Linked DNA regions of Homo sapiens: regions 1, 2, 3, 5, 6 and 7 are each linked to region 4. The links are contacts of gene promoters, found by promoter capture Hi-C in blood cells and fetal thymus (Javierre and others, 2016). All regions are on one chromosome and are shown on one strand. Each heading gives the region's core, a stretch centred on a gene start or on the middle of the fragment in contact. The rest is flanking DNA. Distances are from core to core; before and after follow the strand shown. Region 1 overlaps NCBP2L (nuclear cap binding protein subunit 2 like). Region 2 has its middle 20 kb from the start of FRMPD3. Region 3 holds the start of PRPS1 (phosphoribosyl pyrophosphate synthetase 1). Region 4 holds the start of RIPPLY1 (ripply transcriptional repressor 1). Region 5 overlaps MID2 (midline 2). Region 6 holds the start of MID2 (midline 2). Region 7 overlaps MID2 (midline 2).

What was found. The method cuts DNA at HindIII sites, captures the fragments that hold promoters and counts their contacts. A CHiCAGO score of 5 or more calls a contact.
Region 1: a fragment that was not itself captured here is called in contact with the fragment with the promoter of RIPPLY1 in region 4 in 3 of 17 cell types (naive B cells, naive CD4 T cells and total CD4 T cells); the score reaches 6.7 in naive B cells.
Region 2: a contact is called between a fragment that was not itself captured here and the fragment with the promoter of RIPPLY1 in region 4, in 1 of 17 cell types (total CD8 T cells). The highest score is 5.0, in total CD8 T cells.
Region 3: a fragment that was not itself captured here is called in contact with the fragment with the promoter of RIPPLY1 in region 4 in 1 of 17 cell types (naive CD4 T cells); the score reaches 5.1 in naive CD4 T cells.
Region 5: a contact is called between a fragment that was not itself captured here and the fragment with the promoter of RIPPLY1 in region 4, in 2 of 17 cell types (neutrophils and total B cells). The highest score is 6.6, in neutrophils.
Region 6: a contact is called between the fragment with the promoter of MID2 here and the fragment with the promoter of RIPPLY1 in region 4, in 5 of 17 cell types (total CD4 T cells, erythroblasts, monocytes and 2 more). The highest score is 6.3, in total CD4 T cells.
Region 7: a fragment that was not itself captured here is called in contact with the fragment with the promoter of RIPPLY1 in region 4 in 3 of 17 cell types (non-activated CD4 T cells, total CD4 T cells and fetal thymus); the score reaches 7.6 in non-activated CD4 T cells.

The regions. Positions count from the first base shown.
Region 1 is chrX:107,795,122-107,798,352 of GRCh38, forward strand. NCBP2L (nuclear cap binding protein subunit 2 like) reads left to right here. Exons shown (of 2, transcript NM_001348372.2): 2 at 1-708. Among named protein-coding and RNA genes, the nearest start is that of NCBP2L, 19 kb to the left of the region's middle. The HindIII fragment of the contact is 871 bases long and covers 881-1,751 here.
Region 2 is chrX:107,428,057-107,431,569 of GRCh38, forward strand. It overlaps the pseudogene KRT18P49. Among named protein-coding and RNA genes, the nearest start is that of FRMPD3, 20 kb to the right of the region's middle. The HindIII fragment of the contact is 1,149 bases long and covers 1,096-2,244 here.
Region 3 is chrX:107,628,078-107,631,140 of GRCh38, forward strand. PRPS1 (phosphoribosyl pyrophosphate synthetase 1) reads left to right here and starts at 433. Exons shown (of 7, transcript NM_002764.4): 1 at 433-673. The coding sequence starts at 552. RefSeq lists a silencer at 271-320. The HindIII fragment of the contact is 1,363 bases long and covers 903-2,265 here.
Region 4 is chrX:106,901,232-106,904,709 of GRCh38, forward strand. RIPPLY1 (ripply transcriptional repressor 1) reads right to left here and starts at 2,110. Exons shown (of 4, transcript NM_138382.3): 1 at 1,902-2,110; 2 at 909-984; 3 at 243-307. The coding sequence starts at 2,056. It also overlaps a transcript of CLDN2 not described here. The HindIII fragment of the contact is 2,011 bases long and covers 1,065-3,075 here.
Region 5 is chrX:107,848,637-107,851,941 of GRCh38, forward strand. The region is part of intron 2 of MID2 (midline 2); the gene reads left to right. Among named protein-coding and RNA genes, the nearest start is that of MID2, 24 kb to the left of the region's middle. The HindIII fragment of the contact is 7,784 bases long and covers 1-3,305 here.
Region 6 is chrX:107,824,410-107,827,556 of GRCh38, forward strand. It overlaps MID2 (midline 2), which reads left to right and starts at 1,457. Exons shown (of 10, transcript NM_012216.4): 1 at 1,457-2,021. The coding sequence starts at 2,018. RefSeq lists silencers at 1,875-2,064, 2,225-2,274. The HindIII fragment of the contact is 8,930 bases long and covers 1-3,147 here.
Region 7 is chrX:107,872,126-107,875,600 of GRCh38, forward strand. The region is part of intron 3 of MID2 (midline 2); the gene reads left to right. Among named protein-coding and RNA genes, the nearest start is that of MID2, 48 kb to the left of the region's middle. The HindIII fragment of the contact is 669 bases long and covers 1,402-2,070 here.

The sequences.
Region 1 (3,231 bases), core at 66-2,565, 890 kb after region 4:
GAAAAGTCTGGAAGAATTTGTAATAAAAACAAAAATCCTCCTGCCCCACCTCTTCCTATCCTACGCCTATTCCCTGGACGATAACGCTTAATTATTTTTATTAGTTTTTGGTTTGTTTGTTTCTTGGTAGTTTCCTCCATATCTCCAAATAACATGACTACTTACTTTCTTTTTAAACGCTACGTACTGACTTCCTACTTTCAGAGATGAGGATTTAGCTCACTTACACCCCCATTTGCACTTCTCTACTCTCCATCCTCTCAATATAGTTCACAACACTTTACAGAGGGTTCCTGAGTTACAATGGCTTGGCTTACAATGTTTGGACTTTACAATGGTATAAAAGTGATGTGCATTCAGTAGAAACCATGCTTCAGGTACCCATACAACTATTTCGTTTTTGACTTTCAGTATAGTATTCAACAAATTGCATGAGATACTTAACACTTTATTATAAAATAGGCTTTGGGTTAGATGATTTTGCCCAAGTGTAGGCTAATGTAAAATGTTTAAGATAGGTTGTGCTATGCTATATTTGAGAGGTTAGATGTATTAAATGCATTTTCAACTTAATATATACAATAAGCTTATTAGGATGTAACCCCATCATAAGTCAATGAGCATCTGTACTTACTTTCTTTACTGTTACATAGCATAACTTAGGTTATACTGCAGTAATAAAAAATCGAAAAATTTTAGTGCTTAAAATTACTAAGTTCTGTTCCTCCCACTACATTCCCATTGCTGATTACATGGTGCCGGGGTCTGCTCCATGCCATGATTGTCCTCCTTCTGGGGCCTAGGCTAATAGTATACCCACTATCTGGAATGATGATGACAGAGGGAAAAACAGAGTGACAAATCATGTCCTGGCTCCTCAAGCTTCCACCCAGAAATGATATCCGTCACTTTTGCTCACATTTCCATTCTCAAAACATGTTGTCAAAACTGATTCTGAGGGAGTGGAGAAGGATCTGTAGGAAGAGATCCTGAATATTAGTGATGAGTTATACAGTTTACTACAGGTTCTCCTATAACTTTAATATATACAAATATAACCCCATTTTTGTTTTGCTCCACCATATAGTACTTCCCACTTTGTAAGATGAAGATGTTAATGTCCTTTTGCCTTTTCTTCATCTTTCTTCCTCCCCCTTCTACTTTCTAGCTTTTTTCATCTATATTTCTGTTTTTACATTGTCAAACTTGATAAAGTTGTCCGTGCTCTGTCTTTCAGTTAATTCCAAAAGTTTACAATTAGTAAAGAGTATTTTATTACTGTGACTATATAAATATTGTTCCCTGGTCAGGCGCAGTGGCTTATGCTTGTAATCCCAGAATTTTGGGAGACTGAGGTAGGCAGATCACTTGAGGTCAGGAGTTCAAGACTGGCCAGGGCAACATGGTGAAACCCTGTCTTTGCCAAAAATACAAAAATTGCTGGGCATGGTGGCATGTGCCCGTGGTCCCAGCTACTCAGGAGGCTGAGATGGTAGGATAGTGATCCCTCCTGAGCCCAGGAGGCGGAGGTCGCAGTGAACTGAGATTGTTCCACTGCACTCCAGCCTGGGTGGCAGAGTGAGACCCTATTTCAAAAATAAGTAAATAAATAAATAAATAAAGTTCCTTGCAAAGCCAGGGAGAGTCCAACATCTATATCTTTTCTGCTGGAATTTTTATTTACCATTCTCTCTTTCTTATATTTGCCTTTATTGCACCCCTTAATTTCCTTCAAACTCTGTAAAAAATTAAGCTTTCCATGGATATTCTCCTACTTTTTTCTTTTTTGAAGTCTCACTCTGTCGCCCAGGCTGGAGTTCAGTGGCACAATCTTGGCTCACTGCAAACTCTGTCTCCTGGGTTCAAGCGATTCTCCTGCCTCAGCCTCCCGAGTAGCTGGGACTACAGGTGTGTGCCACCACACGCAGCTCATTTTTGTATTTTTTTTAGTAGAGACGGGGTTTCACCATATTGGCCAGGCTGGTCTCAAACTCCTGACCTCCTGATCCACCCGCCTTGGCCTCCCAAAGTGCTGGGATTACAGGCGTCAGCCACTGCACCCGACAATTCTACTTTCCTCTCCATGGTCTGTCTGTCCTCCTATTCCAGTTTGGATTTGTTACTCTCTAGACCAGGATTTCTCAATCTCAGCCCTACTGATGTTTTGGACCAGAGAATTATTTGTTGTGGAAGGCTGTGTAGTGCATTGTAGAATTCAGTATCCTTGGCCTCATATACCCATTAAATACAGTAGCACGCATTTGTGCGCGCACACACACTTCAACTTGTGACAACCAAAAATGTCTCCAGACATTACCAGTTGTTTCTGGCAGGCCAGTGGGGAGGCAAAATCACAACTGGCTGCAAACCACTCCCTAGACAACAGTTTCCATCCAGAGATTTTTCTTCACTATAGTCCTGAATTGGACTGACTATTTCATGGATCCTGTGTTTATCCCTTTTGTGATTTACTTCTATATTAGTCCATTTTCACACTGCTGTAAAGAACTACCTGAGACTGGGTAATTTATGAAGCAAAAAGGTTTAATTGACTCACAGTTCTATAGGCTTAACAGGAGGCATGACTGAGAGTCCTCACGAAACTTACAATCATGGCAGAAGGTGAAGGGGAAGTAAGCACATCTTACCATGGTGGGCAGGAGAGAGAGTGAGAGAGCAAAGGGGGAAGTGCCACACACTTTTAAACCATCAGATCTCAGGATAACTCACTATCACAAGAACAGCATGGGGGAAATCCACCCCCATGATCCAGTCACCTCCAACCAGTCCTCTCCTCCAATTAGACATGAGATTTGGACAGGACACAAATCCAAACCATGTCATTCCACTCCTGGCTCCTCCCAAATCTCATGTCCTTCTCACATTGCAAAATACAATCATCCTTTCTGAATAGTCCCCCAGTCTTAACTCACTTCAGTATTAACTCAAAAGTCCACAGTCCAAAATCTCATCTGAGACAAGATAAGTCCCTTCTACCTATGAGCCTGTAAAAAAAAAAAAAAAAAAAAAAAAAGTTAATTACCTCCAAGATACAATGTGGGTACAGGCATCGGATAAATGCTCCCATTCAAAATGGAAGAAATTGGCCAAAACAAAGGGCCTACCGGCCCCATGCAAGCCTGAAACCCAGTAAGACAGTCATTAAATCTTAAAGCCTTGTATCACTTATTTGTAGTTTCTTCCCTTCTGTTTCCTCTGCTGTTTCTGTAA
Region 2 (3,513 bases), core at 420-2,919, 530 kb after region 4:
GAGTCAGGAATCTTGGGGGCAATCGTAGAATTCTGCCTACTACAAAGGACTGGAAGATAAAGATGAGGAAATCCCTCACAATGGGGAAAAATAGATAAGAAATAAAGGAAAAGCAATAATGAAGAAAAAATTAGGAAGTTCAACATCTAGCATCCAATTATTAGAAATTCCAGAAAGAAGGGAGAAAATTATCAAAGAAGTAATATGATAAAATTCTGAAAGCCAATGGAAAACATGAGTTTTCTAACTGAAAAAGCCAACCGAATGTCTCGTAGAGTTGTGTTTTTCAAAGCCACATTCCCAACCATGTCAGGGTTCATATGCTGAATACTATGAAATGCTGATAAAAGAAATCAGATAAACCTAAATAATGGAGAGACATACCATATTCATGAATTAGAAGACTTAACATGGTTAAAATGTCAATTATCCCTAACTGGCTATAGATTTAATGCAATATTTATCATTTATATTCATCATTTGATAAATAATAAATATTTACCAAAATTCCAAGGGGTTTCTTGCAGATATAGACAAGCTTATTCTAAAATTAATATGAAAAGGCAAAGGTGTGGACAATGCCCGCATCGTTCTGAAGATCGACAATGCCTGTCTTGCATCAGCAGATGACTTTAGAGTCAAGGATGAGACAGAGCTGACCATGCACCAGTCTGTGGAGAGCGACATCCATGGGCTCCACAAGATCATTGATGACACCAATGTCACTCAGCTGCAGCTAGAGGCAGAGGTCAAGGCTCTCAAGGAGGAGTTGCTCTTCATGAAGAAGAACCACGAAGAGGAAGTAAAAGGCCTACAATCCCAGATTGCCAGCTCTGGGTTGTCCATGGAGGTAGATACCCCAAATCTCAGGACCTCACCAAAATCATGGCAGACATCCAGGCCCAATATGACTAGCTGGCTCGGGAGAACCAAGAGGAGCTGGACAAGTACGGGTCTCAGCAGACTGAGGAGAGCACCACAATGGTCACCACACAGTCCGCCGAGGTTGGAGCTGCTGAGATGGCGCTCACGGAACTGAGACATACAGTCCAGTCCTTGGAGATTGACCTGGACTCAATGAGAAATCTGAAGGCAAGCTTGGAGAGCAGCCTGAGGAAAGTGGAGGCCCGCTATGCCCTACAGATGGAGCAGATCAACGGGATCCTGCTCCACCTGGAGTCGGAGCTGGCACAGATCCGGGCAGAGGGACAGTGCCAGGCCCAGGAGTACAAGGCCCTGCTGAACATCAAGGTCAAGCTGGAGGCTAAGATCGCCACCTACTGCCACCTGCTGGAAGATGGCAAGGACTTCAATCTTGGTGATGCCCTGGACACCAGCAATTCCATGCAAACCATTCAAAAGACCACCATCTGCCGGATAGTGGATCATAAAGTGATGTCAGACATTAAGCCAGCAGAAGCAGGGTACTCTTTGGGGAGCAGGAGGCTGATTAAAAGTTCAGAGGGGAAAAAAAAGAAAGAAGAGAAAAAGAAAAAAAGAAAGAAAAGGCAAAGGAATTAGAAAAGCCAAGACATTATTTGTGGAAAAAATAAAATTAGAGGAATCACATTGAATGATTTTAAGATTTATAGAAAGTTAAGTAATCAATACTGAGTGTTACTAGTGAAGAGATAGGCACATAAATCAATGAGATGGAAAAGAGAGTTCAGAAAGAGATGTACAAAAAAGAGACAAAAGGCCAGGTGTGGTGGCTCATGCCTGTAATCCCAGCACTTTGGGAGGCTGAGGAGGGCAGATCACCCTAGGTCAGGAGTTCAAGACCAGCTTGGCCAACATGGAGAAACCCCATCTCTACTAAAGATCAAAAATTAGCAGGGCATAGTGGTGGGCACCTGTAATCCCAGCTAATAGGGAGGCTGAGGCAAGAGGATTGCTTGAACCCGGGAGGCAGAGGCTGCAGTGAGCCAAGATGGTGCCACTGCACTCCAGAGCCTGGGTGACAGAGTGAGACTCTGTCTGAAAAAAAAAAAAAAAGACAAAGATGCAAGAACAATTCAGCAGAGAAAACATCATCTTTTCAACAAATAATGCTGAAACAGTTGAACATCCACAGTTTTAAAAAAAGAACATTGACCTAAATATTATACCTTATATAAAAGTGAATTCAAAATAGATATTAGATCTAAATGCAAAACCTAAAACTATAAAACTTTTAGAAGAAGATGTAAGGGAAAATCTTTGTGACCTTGGGTTAGGCAAAGAACTTTTGGATATACCACCAAAAGCTTGATCCATAAAAAAGAAAAATTGGTAAATTGGACTTTATTAAAAGGTAAAACTTTTGCTCTGTGAGAGATACTGTTAAGAGAATAAAAAGACAAGCTACAAATTGGGAGAAAATATTTGCAAATCACATATCTGACAAAGAACTTGTATCTAGAATATGTAAAGAGGCTATTAAAACTTAGTAAGAGGCCAGGCACAGTGGCTCATGCCTGTAATCCCAACACTTTAGGAGGCCAAGAAGGATCACTTGAGGTTGCAGCCTGGGCAACACAGCGAGACTCCATCTGTGAAAAAAATCAAACTCAATAAAACTTACTGAAACAAACCAATATTTTTAAGTGGGCAAAAAATTTTTTGAAAAGTCACTTTACAAATGAGGATACAAAAACGGCTCACAAACACATAAAATTCATCATTCAGGAAATGAGAATTAAAACTGCAAAAGTGTGCCTTTAGAGAGCCACTAGTAATTGAAATAAAAAGGAATGTTAATACCAAGTTTGGCAAGGATGTAAAGCAACTGGAACTCTGTTTCATTGTTGGTGGGATTCTAAAATGGTACAACCACTTTGGAAAGTACTTTGGCAGTGTCATAAAGTTAAACTTAATACCAATCATATGATACAGCTTTTTCACTCGTAGAGAGAATGGAAAACATATGTCTGCACAAAACCCTGTACACAAATCCTCTTAGCAGCTTTATTTACAATTGTCAAAAAATGGAAACAATCCAAATACCCAATAAAAGTGAATAAACAAATTTTAGTAAATCCATACCATGGAGTACTACTCAGCAATAAAAGGGAATTGACTAATGATACATGAAACAACATGAATTTCATAAATATTATGATGTGTGAAAGAAGTCAGACGCAGAAGTACACATACTGCATGATTCTAATTTATAGTGACAGAAAGCAGGTCAGTGGTTGCCTAGGGATAAAGAAATGATTTGCAAAGGAGCCTGAAGAAAACTTTTGGAGGTGTTGGATATGATTGTGGTGATGGTTTCACAAGGATAAACATATGTCAAAACTTATCAAATTGTACACCTTTAACACGTGCAGTTTATTGTAGGTCATTTACACCTCAGTAAAGCTATTTCAAAAGATTATAAAAATTACACTAATTTAAAGAAGTCATGCACAAAAGGTTGCCTACATATGATTCCATTATATGAAGTTTGAGAATGTGAAAATGTTTTAATTTATTTTAAAGTCAGAAGTAAAAATGGATTTTTAGGTCAAAGATGTTTCAGCACATAAT
Region 3 (3,063 bases), core at 334-2,833, 730 kb after region 4:
ATAAAAAATGTGTTCAGAAACATGCAAACTCGTGGCTGTCATCCTGATAAACAGATTTTCTTAAAGGAAACTGTAAACCAGAGCCAGACTTACTTTCCTGCGCTGAGGGAGGGGAAATAAAAAAGCAGGCATGGTTGATTTCCCGCTAGCGGGAACGATCTGGCCTCAGACGTCACCAGCATCCCTCCACCCCCAGTCCAACGTCTCCTGTCCCCAACAGCCTAGCTACAGGGGGCCGGGCTATGGGTTAGTCTCGCCCCCGTTCATGCTCTTCACCCAATACCTGAGAGAATCGGAAGGAGGCAGAGCTACACCGAGGACCAAACCCCGCCCTTCGCTCCCTCTTAGCTAATCGTTGCCAGCGGGGTGTGGACTTCGCCGCTGACCCCACCTCCGCCGCTTTGGGTAATTTAGAGCCGCGCGCCGGGCGGGAATGTAAGATGGCGGAGTAGCAACGCAAAGCGCTTGGTATTGAGTCTGTGGCCGACTTCGGTTCCGGTCTCTGCAGCAGCCGTGATCGCTTAGTGGAGTGCTTAGGGTAGTTGGCCAGGATGCCGAATATCAAAATCTTCAGCGGCAGCTCCCACCAGGACTTATCTCAGAAAATTGCTGACCGCCTGGGCCTGGAGCTAGGCAAGGTGGTGACTAAGAAATTCAGCAACCAGGAGACCTGGTAAGGACCAAGTTGGGACCCTGACTAGACCTCACCTGCCCAGGCGGCAGAGTATAGGAGGGATGGGGTCGCCGCTTGAGCTCAAACAGACTGGGGGTTGGGGGGAGAGGGTGCAGCTCTGTGACTAGCCTACCCCACGGGCTGTTTCCGTTATTTTACCTCTCGCGGGAGGGTCACGTTCATTCTTACCGTGCGGTGGGGTGGAGTCAAAAGATGGAGTGTGAGGCGAAGCTTCTGCGTTTGAGGGCAAGGGCTGGGGGACCCAATAGATAGTGGCTGCATAGAGCGACGAGAGGGGACCGACGCTTAGCCAGGGCGGTAGGGACACGTGGCTTGGCTTTGCTGTTGAGCCACCCAGGCTGGACTGGGTTGCTTCAGCTCTTAGACTAGCTTGCATTTAGAGAGCCTACCTGCGTACTGAGCTCTCCTGGTCTTTCTTTTCCTAGAGTCCAATAAGCAGCTTTTTGATTCGAAATGGTGTTGGTCCGTTCGGCTTGGTGTTGAGGGAAACTGACATTATATACTGCAGGCGCCAAAATTATTACGACTTCCCTTAGATCAGCAAGCGTTGGCTTTTCTCATCTTATGAATCATCTACCTGAGTAATTGGAGCCATAAATCTAGTTGATTTGTTAAAGTGATGCGTTGACTCTGCATCCTTGATAGCCAGCATCTCAGCTTGAGCCATCCAAAAAATCTTGGAAATCTCAATTCTGGAATGTTTGACCTTCCCCAGTGCAGCTAGTGGTACAGATAATGCAAAAGCGTATTTTTCAGTAACCGAGTCCATCCTGGACTTGGCTCCTTCTTTAAGCTCTGTGTAGGGAATTTAGGAAACAATTTTATACCTGAATGTTAAAGATAATTGAGGACAGGCAATGTAGTGGAAGACTAGGATTGGACAGTGCATTGCAACTTGCGTTTTTTCCATTGCCTTGCCAGTAAAACTTGCTTCCTCGACTCCGACTTACACCCTCTACCGGCACCATGGGACTGTTTTAGAGATGACTTGGTTACCTGATTATTTCAGTGCCCCTTCCACCTAAGTGTGGGATCTTTAGTTTCTGATAGGTGTAATTTGTATTTTATTGTTACCCTATCGATTAAATCAGAGCCCTGCCCACAATCTTACAGATTTGTTAAGGGGAAAGTTTTCACCTAATAATCAGATAAGAATATTTCGAATATTTTTTCCTAAATGTTTTTGCTTACTTTTTTGCTTTCTTTGGACTGATTTCCAAGTTTAACTCGCCTTATCTCTTTTAGACCCAGCTGATAAAGTAATGTCACCGATAATGGACAGCTTCTTCCCGAATTATTGTGCTACTGATTGTGATGCAAATGATAGTGTAAACATTGCCATCTGTAACCAGGCAATACCTTAGTTAAAAGAGGCTTACAAACTGCTGTCTTTAGATTTTTCCAAACCATTATGGCTCATGGGCCTTAATAAAGAATACAAAACAGGACTAGACTTTGTGATTGGCAATATAGTTAGGGGACAAGAATGTTTTTCATTTAGAGGTTTTCTTTGGCCCCTGTGGATATTTAATCCTTTTCCTATGCGTCTAGGAAAAATGTGAAGGCATGAAAGCTTTATTTTCTCCTTGTGTTAATCCTTCTGCCCTCTGCATAATGCAGCACCCCAGAACCTGAGGCTATATTGGGAGAGGAGAGGGGGAGGACAACTTAGTTTTCTACTGATTGATTTCTATTAAGTCCAACATGGATAATTGCTGACTGGTTAGATTTTCTTGTTTCTGGCTTAATCATTAGCTTCTTGTTTCCTAGATATTCTGAAATCTTCATTGAACATAATCACATTTTTTTTTATGGAGTTCCCCCTATCTTTGTTTTTCCTATACTGAAGAAATGGTAACTGCTCCCTATAACTGCTCCCCCAGGTGACTCTTGGTTGATGCTCTCTTGAGCAGAGTAGCTTTTCTTCTAACATAAGGATCATCCTTGGCTGTCTGGTTATTTAGGAAACACACACACACACACACACACACACACACACACACGGAGGGGGTGGGTGTTAAAAGTGCTGAAATCAGAGAACTTGGATCTGAATCCTTAACCTTTCTTTGCCCCAATAATCTAATCTGTAAAGTAGTACCTACCCATACTGTTGTTATGAGGATTAAATGAGATAGAAGTAAAGTTCTTAGGATCTTGTCCAAAACATAATAAGTACAACAGTAAATGTTGACAAGAAGGGGTGGTGATAATATTGCAGAAAATGTGGAAAATTTAGAACACGGAAGGGAGAAGATATGCCTCTTAATTCTGCCACCTGACATAAATGTCACATTATCATTTCTGACCTCCCAGATATTTGTGTAAGATACACTTTTTCAAGAATGTTTAATACATTTATAGCTCTCTTC
Region 4 (3,478 bases), core at 860-3,359:
TCCACTGAGGATTATTTCACTGACCCATCCATGGGGGATCATTCTTGGGCATCGTTAACAATGCCTCTAGAAAAGACAGCCTTGGCAAAGTCCCTTAACCTCTCTGGGCTCCAGTTTTCTCTCCTATGAAACAGCGATCATAGATAGCAATTCCTCCCCTCTCCTGCTTCACAAGACCTTTGTGAAGATTCAAAGAGCTAATGGATCTATGTCAAGTTTGGAGCTTCATGCCAGAAGCTTACCTGACAGGGTGATGGAACTTGGATTCAGCCTTGGTGACCTCAGCAGCCGTTGCCCCACCAGCAGCCTGTCCAAAGCAAAAGCTAGCATGTGGCTCAAAGTACATGGCTAGATAACTTCCTCCTCTGTACTAGAGGTCAGAAAGCTGCAGGTAAAATGATCTTGAAGAGACCTTAGACATCTCTGGGACCCAGCAACCCCCAATACCCACCCCTCAACAAGGGGTCTCTCTTGGTTCTGGTTGAAAAACAAGCAGACAGAGTCCTGCGGGTTGTTTGCTTCCCTGCCTCTGTTCCAGCACCTGTTTGGAGGCTCTCCAGGGGACAGTGTTCTACTGGAGCAGCAAAGATTCAGGGAGATCGGGTGGGTGGGAGAGCACTGGAGTAAGGTGCCAGGAGACGAGGCCTCAAGCACCAGCACTGCCACACACTGGCTGTGGGGCCTGCCCAGATCCCTTGCCCACTCTGAGCTTTGGTCTCCTCATCTTTCCAATTGCCACAGAAAGCTTGGATCTGCTCTCTGTTGGAATCAAATGTTGGCAAAACTGTGAGGATGCTATCTCAGATCTGCACCTTTGGACTGAGGTCAGGGGCTCTCTGGGAAGTGACCTGGTCACTGTTAATGCATGTGGCTGCATGTGAACACACGTCACAAGGGCTCGAACTCACCAAATCCACCAGCTTCCTCATCTGCCTTGGGGAGTCATTTGTGGAAGACAGCCAGGGCCTCCAGAGACAAGTTCCTCTGGGACAAAGAGGAGAGATCAATCCGTAGAGGAAGAGACTGAAAGGTGGGCTCCCTGAGATAACAAGAGACCTCCCAAAAGCTTGGCTCAGGTGCCATCTGCTCCAGGAAGCCTTTCCTAAGGCTCCTGAGCCCATTCCAGGACAGATGTCCCTCCTCTCGGCTTCAGCAATGTTATTATTGCTTTTATCATGCTGTTTTGTAATTGTCTATTTACTTGTCTTTGGGCTTCTTAAGCTCAAAGATATGCTCAATCGTATCTGAATCCTCAACACCTAGTACAATGTCTGGTACACAGTAGCTGTTTCAGTAAATGTTTGTTGAAGACTAAATGTTTGGAGTAATGAGTGGGGGCTAGATGGAAAATATCTTGCCTCCTACTTCCTGCTCCAAGATGTAGAACTCAGAGCTCTACCATCTTCCTGGGCTGAAGAAGAGGGCCAGAAATGTTCCTGGGTCCACTGCTTCCCCACTGGACTTGCAGAGGTAGGAAAAAAGCAAATGGAAATCTTATGGCGTGGTCAGGAAAAAGACAATGTCCCAGTCAAGGGCCTCTTTAGACTTTGGTCCTCTTTCCCCAAACTCCCCACCCCCACAGTCTAGATTGTGTTAAGCCCAGGTTTCATGGCAGTTCCCCATCCCCCTCAGGGGACTCAGCCACCTGGCCTATGAGGACCTGGCTGCTTCACCTTCAGCTTTGGCAACAGCTGTCCCCAAGTCCCCTCTTGCCACCCAGCGGGATTAGTGAGGTGAAAAGTCAGATGAGATATTCCAGCTAGAGTTGAGGAGGGAGGGCTATGAGGCCATTGCTTTTCCCCTTCACAGAGAACAGGGTGCCCTGGACATCTCATTTTCCTTCCTCTCTCAGGAAGCTCTCAAGCCTAAGTTCAGGTTGCCAAAGGCTAAGCTCAACTTACCTTTCACTCCCATTTACTTCTTGTCCAGAGGAGAGAAGGCAAGATGGGCTTAACAGGCCAGGGAGTGCCAGTGGGGCTTGTGCTAGGTCTGGAGCTAGGGCCAAAGCCAGGGCTGGAACAGGGGTGGCAGCAGCAGCACAGGCAGCAGAGTCCATTCTTAGGGGACCAAAGCCAGTGGGGTCTCCTACTTCCCAGAACCTTCTGCACTCTTTTGGCTTTTCCTGGGAGACCCTTTTATAAGCCCTGCCTGGTCTTATAAATTATTCAGGGAGGACAGGGGTGGGATGACTTGGGAGGGGGATAAAGATTTAGGGAAGGGGCTCAGGGAGGGAAAGCTGGGTTACCTGGGTGTGAAATCTCTCCCAGTTGAATAAACATGGTGTCAGTGGGAGGTGAGGGATTTGCTTTGCCTCCAAGTCAGAAAGAAAAACACAGAAGGGGCAAATCGCACACCATTTGTGTGAATTCCCCAGGGAGTAGCAAGGCCTGAGAGGGGAAGGAGAGGAGCTCATTAGCACTCTGAAACCACAGAGATGTCAGGGACAGAGGGCTGAATAGACAGGCCTTTAACTAAGCCAGTTCCTGGCAAGAAGAGACAGCTGACCCCTTTAAGGAGAGTGAGGGACTCACTTGTTATTTCAGCTCAACCTCAGATAGATTTGCCAGGTGGACCTGAATGTAGGGTGACTGCCATTAAGCATATCATCTGGGTTAGGGAAAAAAGGGGCATTCTGGGCAGAGCAGGCCCAGATGCTTGTTGGGTAAACCTTAAGTCTTCTTTCAATGCCCCTCAGCCCCTTACTGATCAGTTCATTTGTCAAAGTGCCCCCTCCAGCCTCAGCAGTAAGTGGTCCAGTGAAGGAGAGCAGGCAGGATTTCACAGGGCCTCTGGGTGAGATTCCAAACCTCAGAGCTTAGCTTCCAGTTCAGAAGCCAGGGTGCTGGGGAGAGGCAAAGTTCTGCCCGACTACAGAGCTGCCGAAGGACCAGCCCCAGCCCCAGGCCTCAGTTCCCTCATGTAAGAGATGAGGGTGCTGGCCCAGTGGTCTCATAGGACCATGCCAGCCTGAACACTCTCTGACAGGGGCTACATAAATGGGTACTGAACCCGGGCAAGCCCAGAGGCCTGAGCACAGTCCTCGGCCTTAGCCAGCCTTCTGGGCCTTTGCCAGAAAGCTTCTAGTTACAACTACTGGCAGGGACCTTATGCTTCAGAGGTCTCGAAAATATTCCTCCTGACCTCAGTGTCCAGCCCCAGCACAGATTTAGCTTCTTGGATGTTCATCACAGTCTGGTTTGTAATGGTCAAAAATTAGAAACAACTTCAATGTCCAATAATAGGAAACCAGTTACATTAATTAGGGCAAATCCTTGCAACTGAATGCCAAGCAGGTGCTCACAATCATGTTCTGGGAAGTATAATTTTTCAACACAGAAAATGGAAAAAAAAATCAGATGGTAAGATAGCATGACTAATTTAAGGGCTCCTCATTTCTCTGTTCACCTACCCCCCATCTTCACCCCACTTCCAATTCTAGTCCCACTATGTTCTTTTCAGCAAAGGAAAATTGAAAACA
Region 5 (3,305 bases), core at 127-2,626, 950 kb after region 4:
ACCTTCATCTCATTCTGGGACGTAGCCTGTGTCTATACAACAGCAAATAAATGTTTGGGGAAAGAATAAATTCTGGCATAAGGGTGTGGGCTTCAGTTTGTGAACCAGATGGCATGTTCTGTTGTTGAGAGGCCATATGTAATTGATACATAAAGTGACAGACTGAAGCAAAAGCAAAGTAAGTATTTTAAGACAAGCAGTTAAAAAAAGAAAGCAGACTGTGACCCTAAAAGCATGTGAAGATTCTGGCTTCTGGCTTTTGGAAGAGCTGAAAATGTCGGTGCATAGACAGGATGTCAAAAAAGAGCATGTCAAAGAATAGTAATGGGGCCACTGGCTCAGATTATTTTTAAAGATGAAGTTGTCTTCTGTCAATCAGGAAGACTCAGGTTTGGGATGAATTGGCCTTTCTGCCCTATTTCACTTCTCCCCTTCCTATGCTCACCCCAAGGTTCAATTCCCACATAAAAGCAGTCAGGATCTTGTCTAGGTTTAGATAATATTCCCCTTGTACCTTTTAGACAGCAAGAGAGAATACAGACATTCTATGACAGTGCCATGTTTCAGTGGAAATGATATGTTTCAATAGAACTAATACAGATTACACCCCCTTTTAGGCTTCAGTACTTACTGTGTCAGGTTGATGTGTGTAGGAGTGCTCATATATGTGCGAATACATATGCCTTCATGGAGTATGACAAATGGAGATCATGGTCCAGTTTGTGCCATAATGGGGTAATCTACCTCGCTTTAATAAAGAGGTGGTGTCTTGATGTACGCCTAGTTTTCTTGAGAGAGTCAATGAGAAAGTTACCTGAAATAATCTGTGTCTAGAGAAGTGAAAAAAAAAAACCAGCAATTATTTGAGGGTTGAAGAAGCCATTTCTGTTAATGGGATGCTGTCTGGAAGAAGAATAGCCTGTGCCCAGCTTTCTCAGATGGCAAAACATTTTCCTCTTTGGGAAGGGAATAAGAGAGCACAAAGAGGCCTAATCTATACAACACAATAAAACTTGGGTAAAAATGGAATCAGTGTAGACTGCCAATTTAGCTAACTGAGGCCTTTTAAAATCTGTTATGCAAATCAGCCAAATCTTTCCCTTACTTTGTGCTGTTTAGACACATGTACAATTTTGTGTGAGCTAGCATAATGTAGTCATCTGGAGGTGAAGAAGGTATCACAGTTTCATAAACTAAAATGGCTTCTGTAACATCCATAAAAGGGAAGCACACAAAGACCCAGAGGTAACCTCTTGCAGCAGGAAATGGGAGCTTCATCCTGCCCCCTGGCTGCCAACCTCCTGTCCTGTTTCCTACCAGCAGATATCTCCATTCCAATCTCCCCTGCCACTTTGGCTCTCTTGCTGTCACGGTTTAACTGTCCTGAGAAAGTTGCACTAACCGGGCTTGAACATAAGGAACCTGGCCCAGTCATTAACTACATTGCACAGGAGCAGAGCAAAACACACCAATATTTCAAAACTGAACAACAACGAAGAGACATGTTTACTTTTATATAGAGATTTTAGACACACACATCCACACACACACAGACACACACACACACACACACACACACACCCTCTTTGTTTACTCAGCCAGAGTACAGACAAGATAATTACTTGGCCAAATCAATCAAATTATTCAAACCTAGAGTGGCCCAGAATTTTTTGTTCTAAATGACTCGTCAGTGCTAGGCATGATAAGGAAGAGTGACTTCCTTAGATTGCATAATCGCTTCAATTCTCTGTTTCCCTTTGCATATGTTCATTATTGAGAATAAATTCCAATTTGAGAGGAGGCTTTAATTCCTTGTAAATGAATAGGAAATGAGTAAGTAAATGTTCGGTGTTTTCCTCAAATTATGTCTCATATTGTAAGAAAACAGTGGCAAAAAGCCATCAACAGATGGTGTTTTCATTAGCCAAAGATTTATTTTTCAAAGCATTTTCATATTAATGAAGTAAGGTTGAAATTAGAGTCATCTTGTCAGATCTAGCTCTGTGTTGTTAACATGTGCTGGCATTCTGCAAATTGCTAGGGGCAAACTAACCATTTGCCATAATTTTGTGATGGTAACTCAAGGCGCATAGTCTAACTAGACCTCAAATTATGTGTTCAGCCCTAATTTTTGTTTTCAGTGGCTTTATAGAAGCCATGAGTCTCAGTTCTGGGCCACAAAAGAGGAACACATAGCAGAGATTTTGCTATGTCCTGCTCTGTACTGTGAATTATTTATGAGATATCAGTTTTGTGATCAGTGTTGCAACAGGTTGAGGTACTTGTTAAAAACATTATTCTCATGGAATCCCATGTTTGAATGGAAATGCATTACAGTTGGAAACACAAATTTCTAATATTGTATTTGCTTGGCGTTCATCAATCTACATTATATTTGCCTAATATATCAATATATTCGCCTAATATATCAATATATTCATTTGTGATACATGGAATTTCCATTGATAGGAATTTGGGCCACTGCTAGAGAAAATTATCAACTGGATTCACTACCAATTCCCACTGCCTAACTCAAGCTAGACCCTTTCATCACACTACAGAGTTATTATATTCACCTTATGGCCAAATTTTTGAAGAGGAGTCTAGACTTGCAGCCTCTACTTTGTCACTACACCATACTCTAACCTCAGGATTTCACAAATTCTTCCAAAACCCTACTGAAACACCTTTTCAAAAGGTCATCTGTGACCTCTAATTACCAAATCCAGCTGCCTTTTATCAATCCTCATATTTCTTGCATTCTCCGCATATTTGACAGTGACAAATCCTTTCCTGAAACACATTTCTTTCAATTATCCTCAGTTTGGCCCAGACTTGCATTACCCTACGGCCTTGAATAGTGCAGCCTTCTTCTAACCAGTGTCCTTCCCCCATCCCCTGCCCTGGGCTTTCCTATTTCAGTCTGCCCCACATTTTGCTGCTAGGTTAATCTCCTAAATGCAGCCCTGATTATGCCATTACCTTGCTCAACAGCTTTTGGTAAGTCCTCAGTGCAAACAACAACAACAACAACAACAACAACAAAAACAAACAAACAAAGAAACTACAAACTCCTTATCTAGGCACTTAAGACCTTTATAACAGGACTTTGGTCTCCATTTCCAGCTGCGTCCCCCACTACTCTCTTTCTACCCTCTGTTCTAGCCAAAGGAAACTACTAGTCCCTGAATATGCCATATATTTTATTTCTTTATACTTTTTATTTATTTATTTATTTATTTATTTATTTATTTATTTATTTATTATTTTTTTGAGACAGAGTTTCACTCTTTTTGCCCAGGCTG
Region 6 (3,147 bases), core at 207-2,706, 920 kb after region 4:
GTGTGTGACCATCCTAATGGATGTGAAGTGATATTTCATTGGGGTTTGATTTGCATTTCCCTAACAATTAGTGATGTGGATCATCTTTGCATATGCCTGTTGGCCACTTGTATATCTTCGTTGGAGAAATGTCTATTCAAGTCTTTTGTCCACTTTTAAGAGTTTTTTTTTTAATTGAGCTATAGAAGTTCTTTATACATTCTGGATATTAGCACATTATCCGATATATGGTTTGCAAATATTTTCTATCATTTTGTAGGTTGCTTTTTCACTCTGTTGATTGTGTCCTTTCCTGTGCAGATGTTTGAAAGTTTTATGGTCCCATTTACCTATTTTTGCTTTTGTTGCCTGTGCTTTAAGTGTGACTCACTAACTTTTACTTCTCTTAGGGGCCAGACTTTCATCAGGAGAGCCTGGTTGTGACTTTTGTCTTGGTTTCCACCTCAGTGCTCTCTAGCACATTGTTTAACAGGAGTGTTGACTGATTACTATTGGTTCCCTGAAGGGATATACCAAGAGATACCTCAATTTTTCTGGACTTGTTCCTATGCACAATGATGGGAGGCGTGTGTGTGTGTGTGCTGGGGTGAGTCTTCCCATTTTCTCATTTCTTTCCCCTTCTTCTCCCTTTTTGCCCCAAGTTAGAAACAGAGTCTCTTATGGGGCTTCCTGCTCTTTCCCTCTCCCATCCACCTTTTGAGTCGGGTGGTGGTCTCTGAGCCAATGACAGGTCAGCAAACAGGCTGATTCCAGACCAATGGGAGGATGCTGGATTCCAAATGGACCAATTAGCTTATTAGGGACCTGGAATAGCTGGATAGCTAGCATCTGCCTCATTGTCCATGTGGTAACGACCCTCTTGTTTTACTGGTCAACAATTTGAAGGTACAAGAAAAATCCTACTTTTTTTTTTCTTTTGATGGTTTTAATCCACCTCCACAACTTCTGCCCGAGGCCAATAAAACACAGCCATTCTTTTTTTGTAAAAAGAAAGAGAGGTTCGGTTTCCTTCAATTGTCTGCCCTTTTCTATCTCCTCCACTATTTTTGTTTTACTCTGTAGTTAACTTTGCATAGAGCAGCTTCATAGGGAGGATCTCTGCGGTGGACCCGGCTCTCTCTTCTTATTACCCGTTGCAAAGGCCTCTTTCTTGTTCTAACCTGGGGGTTTGTGGGGTTGGGGGACAGGGGGATTGGGGAGTGGGAGAAGAGTTTAGCCATAGCCTTCCTTCTGCATTTCACACACATTTAGCTATCTCTGTCGCTCTGTCACACACACACACACGCACATACACACCATACACACACACACGCACACCCGTCCGGGTCCCTCTCGGTGTGTCTTCCTTCAAGATGACAGGGCGCTGGAGAAAAGGCTGCTGGAATCAGCTGGTAGGTACAGTAGTAACCCGAGCCCCACCCACCGGCTGCCTTTGCTTGCTCAGGTTTCTCCGGTCACTCCTGCCAGGGGAGAAGACATGTAAACGTGCCTCCAGAGGAAGGGCTGGGGGAGCTGGGAGTGGCGGGGGCGGCGGAAGGTGAGCCTGGGAAGGTGGCCGAGCACCCCTTCTTCTTGGGCCCTTCCCAGTGCTCCCTTGGGGTGTCAGCCCCAGCCCCGTTTGCCCCCACTCCGCCTCCCTTTTGGAAGGGATTGCCTTTTTTTTCCTCTGCGGCGGCGGAAATGACAGTGTGGTGCTGCCGTGGTGTCATGGTGCTGCCCCTGGACTGAGGGGCGAAAACTCTTAAGTTTAGCTCGGGAGGCCCAGCTGCGGTAGCATCGCGGCCGCCGTGCTGTCCCCTGCGGGGCGCGCGGGCTGGCGGATCCCGGCTGCTGCGCGGCGTCGGCGACGGTAGCGGCAGCGGCGGCGAAGGCGGGCGGCGGCCTACAGTGGTAGCGGCGGCGGCGGCGACCGGGGCCCGGGAGCTCGCGCCGGAGCCCGAGCCAACCCGCTGCGGAGGCAGACGAGAGCCCAGCGCCCTCGAGCGAGCGGAGGAGATGGCTGGCACCTGGGAACGCTATGGGTAAAACGCGCCCCCTCGCCGCGGCCCTGGAGGTCGAGCGTCGTAGCCCTCGCAGGGCTAGTCTCCGGCTCCGGCCGCTTTTCAGGTGCCGCCGGGGCCCGGCGTTGGCCGAGGGCTCTCCGGCTCGGCGAGGCAGGGTGATGGGGCCCGCGAGGCTCGAAACGGCGACGGGGGCCCCAGCTCAGCTCCGGCTCTCAGTCATGCTGTTGGGGCCCGGGTTCCTGCCACTGCCCTCCTGGGACGGAGTTTGCACTCCGGGGTGCGGGGCGGGGGCGGCCGAGGCCTCTGCGCAGCCTGGCCGGGCCCGGCGCGGGCAGTCGAGCGAATCCCCCGGCGCCTGGGCGCGAGTCTGGGAAAGGGCACGGCCGCCTTCCCACGCTCCCGCAGCCGGCAGCCTCCTCGGCCCAGGCGTCGCCCCTTGGCCGGCCGTCTGCCGGGCGGTGCTGTCGCAGCAGCCGGCGTGGCTGCGGACGCCCTGCCGGCGGGGAGGCCCGGTGAAACTTAATCCCTTTTCTGCCAGGGAGCGATCCTCGAGTCTCCGTCTGGATGGTTCCTTATTTCTGGCCTAGCTGTGAAATCAGCTCTGTGGGGGAGAGGGAAAACTTACATATGTCCACAGGACAGACTGCGACGCAACCAGGGAGAGTGGGGATTTTCCATTCCTGCCTTGTAAGAATTAAGTAAATAACGGCGGAGTAGATTTACAGAAACATTACTGGTGATGATAAGGTTTAGGTTACTTAGCACTTCGTGTGTTGCACATTATTTTTCAGAGGTGTTTCTTCTTAGAGCAGGAAATTGAAATCCTGCAGTCGTTGTACTCTTTACTTTCTCTCTTCCACGGTCCCCTACCCGTTTTCAGGATCACTCACCTTCCTATGTCACAACGCTTACTTGCCTACCCAAATCCCCCAGCAGAGCCCCTTGGACCCCAGCCTTTCCCCATCAACGTGTGCACTCCCAGCCTCCCAGCCATGCAGCATCTTACTTCTCAACCACTTTGCCTTTTTGAGGATTTCTGAGTGTGGGGCGGATAGATGGTGATGGTTGTGTGTCTCTGAGGATGAGCCCTTATAAAGGAATATATTGGAAACTAAATAGAGAAGTACTGTGTGTGGGTTGATCC
Region 7 (3,475 bases), core at 486-2,985, 970 kb after region 4:
AGTATGGGAAGAACAGCAGTCAGATTCCTCCCCAAGGTCTACCTAAGGGTCCCCAGCAAAAGGGAGCCATTGTCTGAGGTTCTGGTTGCCTGACTGTTTGGAGTTTGATGGCCTCTAGGTGCAAAGAAACAAGTTTTACAGGGTTAAGTATGCATGGACCAAATATATGTCCAAAGAGGAGTTAAAAGGAGAGAATCTAATGCTGAAGATTACAGAAATAAGAAGTGAAATATACTAATCATTCTGAAATCAACATTATACCCCATGGTATAGCACAGAATGGAGGTAAAAACAACAAGCCTAGGCAAGACTATAAAGAGGATATCCATGGAAGGTTAATTATTAACACTTATCTTTTGTGATTTTTAGCTTGAGTTCCCCAATCTCTTCACATAGGTACTTTGGGTGCTCTTCTGGGTTGATGCAGGTAACTCTGTCAGCTTCCCAGGCCTTTACTCGGGTATAGTGAATACAATGATCTATTCCAGTGACTTTCAGTGCCATAAGAGTAGAAAGAAGTATAATCCCTCCCAATCTGGGCTTATAGAGGGAGAAAGGGAAGCAAGTACCTTTACCAGTATTAGGTCCACTGGGTTGAATAGAGGTGGCCCTAGTTCCTGGGATTGGACCTCCAACAGTTGTTTCAGTTCCTGTTGGAAATGGGCCAAAGAAGTTATATGTTTAATCAAATCAGAGGATTTTTGGTCTAGCAAGAAATCATTCGTGAGAAAAGGCCATCCATACATCATTTCAAAGGAACTCAAACCCAGCTTTGGAGGGGTGTTTCTAACATGTAGTAGGGCTATGGGGAGAAGGGTAGTTCAGGGGCGACGAGTCTCCTAAGACAGCTTCCTGAGGTGCATTTTGATAATATTCATCTTTTCTACCTTTCCTGAGGATTGTGGTCTCCAAGCACAATGAAGATGGTACTGTATGCCTAGTGCCTTTGAGACCCCCTGGGTGACGGCTGCCTTGAACAGGGGCCATTATCACTCTGGAGGTACTTAGGGAGTCCAAAGCAAGGAATTATCTCATTAATTAGTACTTTTATCACCTCAGAGACTTTCTCCGTCTGACAAGGAATTGCTTCTACTTAGTTAGTGAAGGTATCTATCCACACTAGGAGATACTGGATGCCTCTTGCCTTTGGCATATGGGTGAAATCCACTGCTAGTCTTCCCCTGGATAGCCTCCTGTCCTTTGGATTCCTGGGGGAAGAAGCTGTCGATTAAGGGGATTATTTTAAAGGCAGGTCTAGCAAGCATTAACGATCTGTTTAACTGTATCAGGTTTTTACCTGAGAGCAATTTCTGGGCCAACTGATGGGTTTTATCCTTACGTAGGTGGAAAGCTTGGTGAAGGATTTTAAGAACTTTCCATTGGTCAGCAGCCTGTAGATGAAGCTTGCTGTCCTCCAATTGTAGCCATCCTGGGGACTGAAAGATGTATCCCTGAGAGATTGCCCATTCTATTTCCACAGGAGAATATTTAGATTATATTTCTCTTAAGGGGCCCTCTCAGATCAGTGAGGCTTCAAGTGGATCAGAAATCTGAGGCTTTGTTGCTGCTGATTTAGCTGCTTGGTCTGCCAATCTATTTTGCTTGGCTACTTCATCCATACCTTTTTGGTGGCCTTTACAATGTATTACTGCCACTTCACATGTGAGAAAAACCGAGGATAATAGTCTATTAATTTCCTGATGGTATTTAATGGGACTCCCATTACCTGTGAGGAAGTTTCTCGCTTTCCAGATAGTGGCATGGGCACAGAGGACTAGGAAAGCATACTTAGAATCAGTGCAAATGTTAACTGTTTTTCCTTTGCTTAATTTGAGTGCCCTTGTGAGGGCAATTAGTTTGGCTAATTAAGCACTTGTCCCTGAGTAGAGAGACACACTCTCAACAATATCATTCAGAGTAACTATTGCATACCTTGCCTTATGTATCCCTTGTTCTACAAAAGAACTTCTGTCTGTAAAGAGAATCCAGTTTGGGTTCTCTAAGAGGGTTTCCTTGAGATCCTCTCTGGTCACATAGGTCTGTACTACTAGCTGTTCACAGTCATGTTCAAGCTTCCCAGCTTCCTCTGGGAGGAAGGTGGCTGGATTTAGGGAGGGACAGGTTCTTAATTGGACTTCAGATCCCTCTAATAGCAGAACTTGATACACGAGGAGGCAGTTGTCTGTTAGCCAGAGATTCCCCTTAGAAGACAGCAGTCCTGACACATTATGTGGAGTGCAAACAGTTAAGTTATTCCCCATGGTTAACTTAGTAGCCTTTGGTACCAGCAAGGCTACTGCTGCATCTGCCTGGAGGCAGGCTGTCCATCTTTTGGCTACCAAATCAAGCTCCTTACTTAGGTAGCCTACAGGCTGCTGGGCTGGACCAGGGCTTGTGTTAGCACTCCCAGGGCCATTTGCTTTGCTTCTGACACATAAAGATTAAACATCTTCCCTATGGGGAGACTAAGGGCTGGTGCCTTAAGCAAGGTTTGCTTTAGTTGGTCAGAGGCTTTTCTAGTCCCAGGTTCCCAAATTAGAGAGTGAGTTTTAGCTGCCTGAGTATCCTTTATTAGGTGATATAAGGGACAAACTATTTCACCATACCCAAGTATCCATAGTCTGAAGAATCCTGTAATACCTAAGAATCCCCTCAGTTGCTTGAGGGTTTTGGGGAGGGGAAAGGAGGAGATGGACTTAATCCTTTCTTTGCCCAGTGCTCTGGTCCCCTCTGACAAGATCAGACCAAGGTACTTCACTGAAGTCTGACAGAGCTGAGCTTTAGATTTTGAAACCTTATATCCTCTATTAGCCAGAAAATTGAGAAGAGCCTTACTACCCTCCGAGAGGTTTCCTCAGTTCGAGCACAGAGGAGAATGTCATCTATATATTGTAAAACTTTAACCTGAGGATAAAGGAACTCAGAGAAGTCTCTTGACAATGCCTGCCCAAACAAGTGAGGGCTGTCTCAGAATCCCTGAGGTAACACTGTCCAGGTTAACTGGGTAGTTTGGTTAGAGGGATCCTCAAATGCAAACAAATACTGGGAGTCAGAGTGTAATGGTATGCAGAAGAAGGCATCCTTTAGGTCCAGGACTGTGAACTGTTTAGTTCCTTCAGGTACTTGAGATAGCAGGGTATACAGATTGGAAACCACTGGGTGTAATGGAACCACAGCTTCATTAACAAGGTGGAGGTCCTGAACTAGTCTTCATTCCCCATTGGGTTTTTGTACTCCCAATATCGGAGTATTACAAGGGCTGTTGCAGGGTTTGAGGAGGCCCTGCAACCTTGTTATCAATGATGGCTTCTAGTCCTTTCCTAACTTCTGGTTTCAGGGGATATTGTTTCTGATTAGGAAATGAGGTGGGATCCTTAAGGTGAACCTGGACTGGTATGGCATTTGTGGATTGGCCAATTTTCCCTTGAATTGCCCAAACTTCTGTGTTAATATCAGTCTTCACTAGGGGGAGACA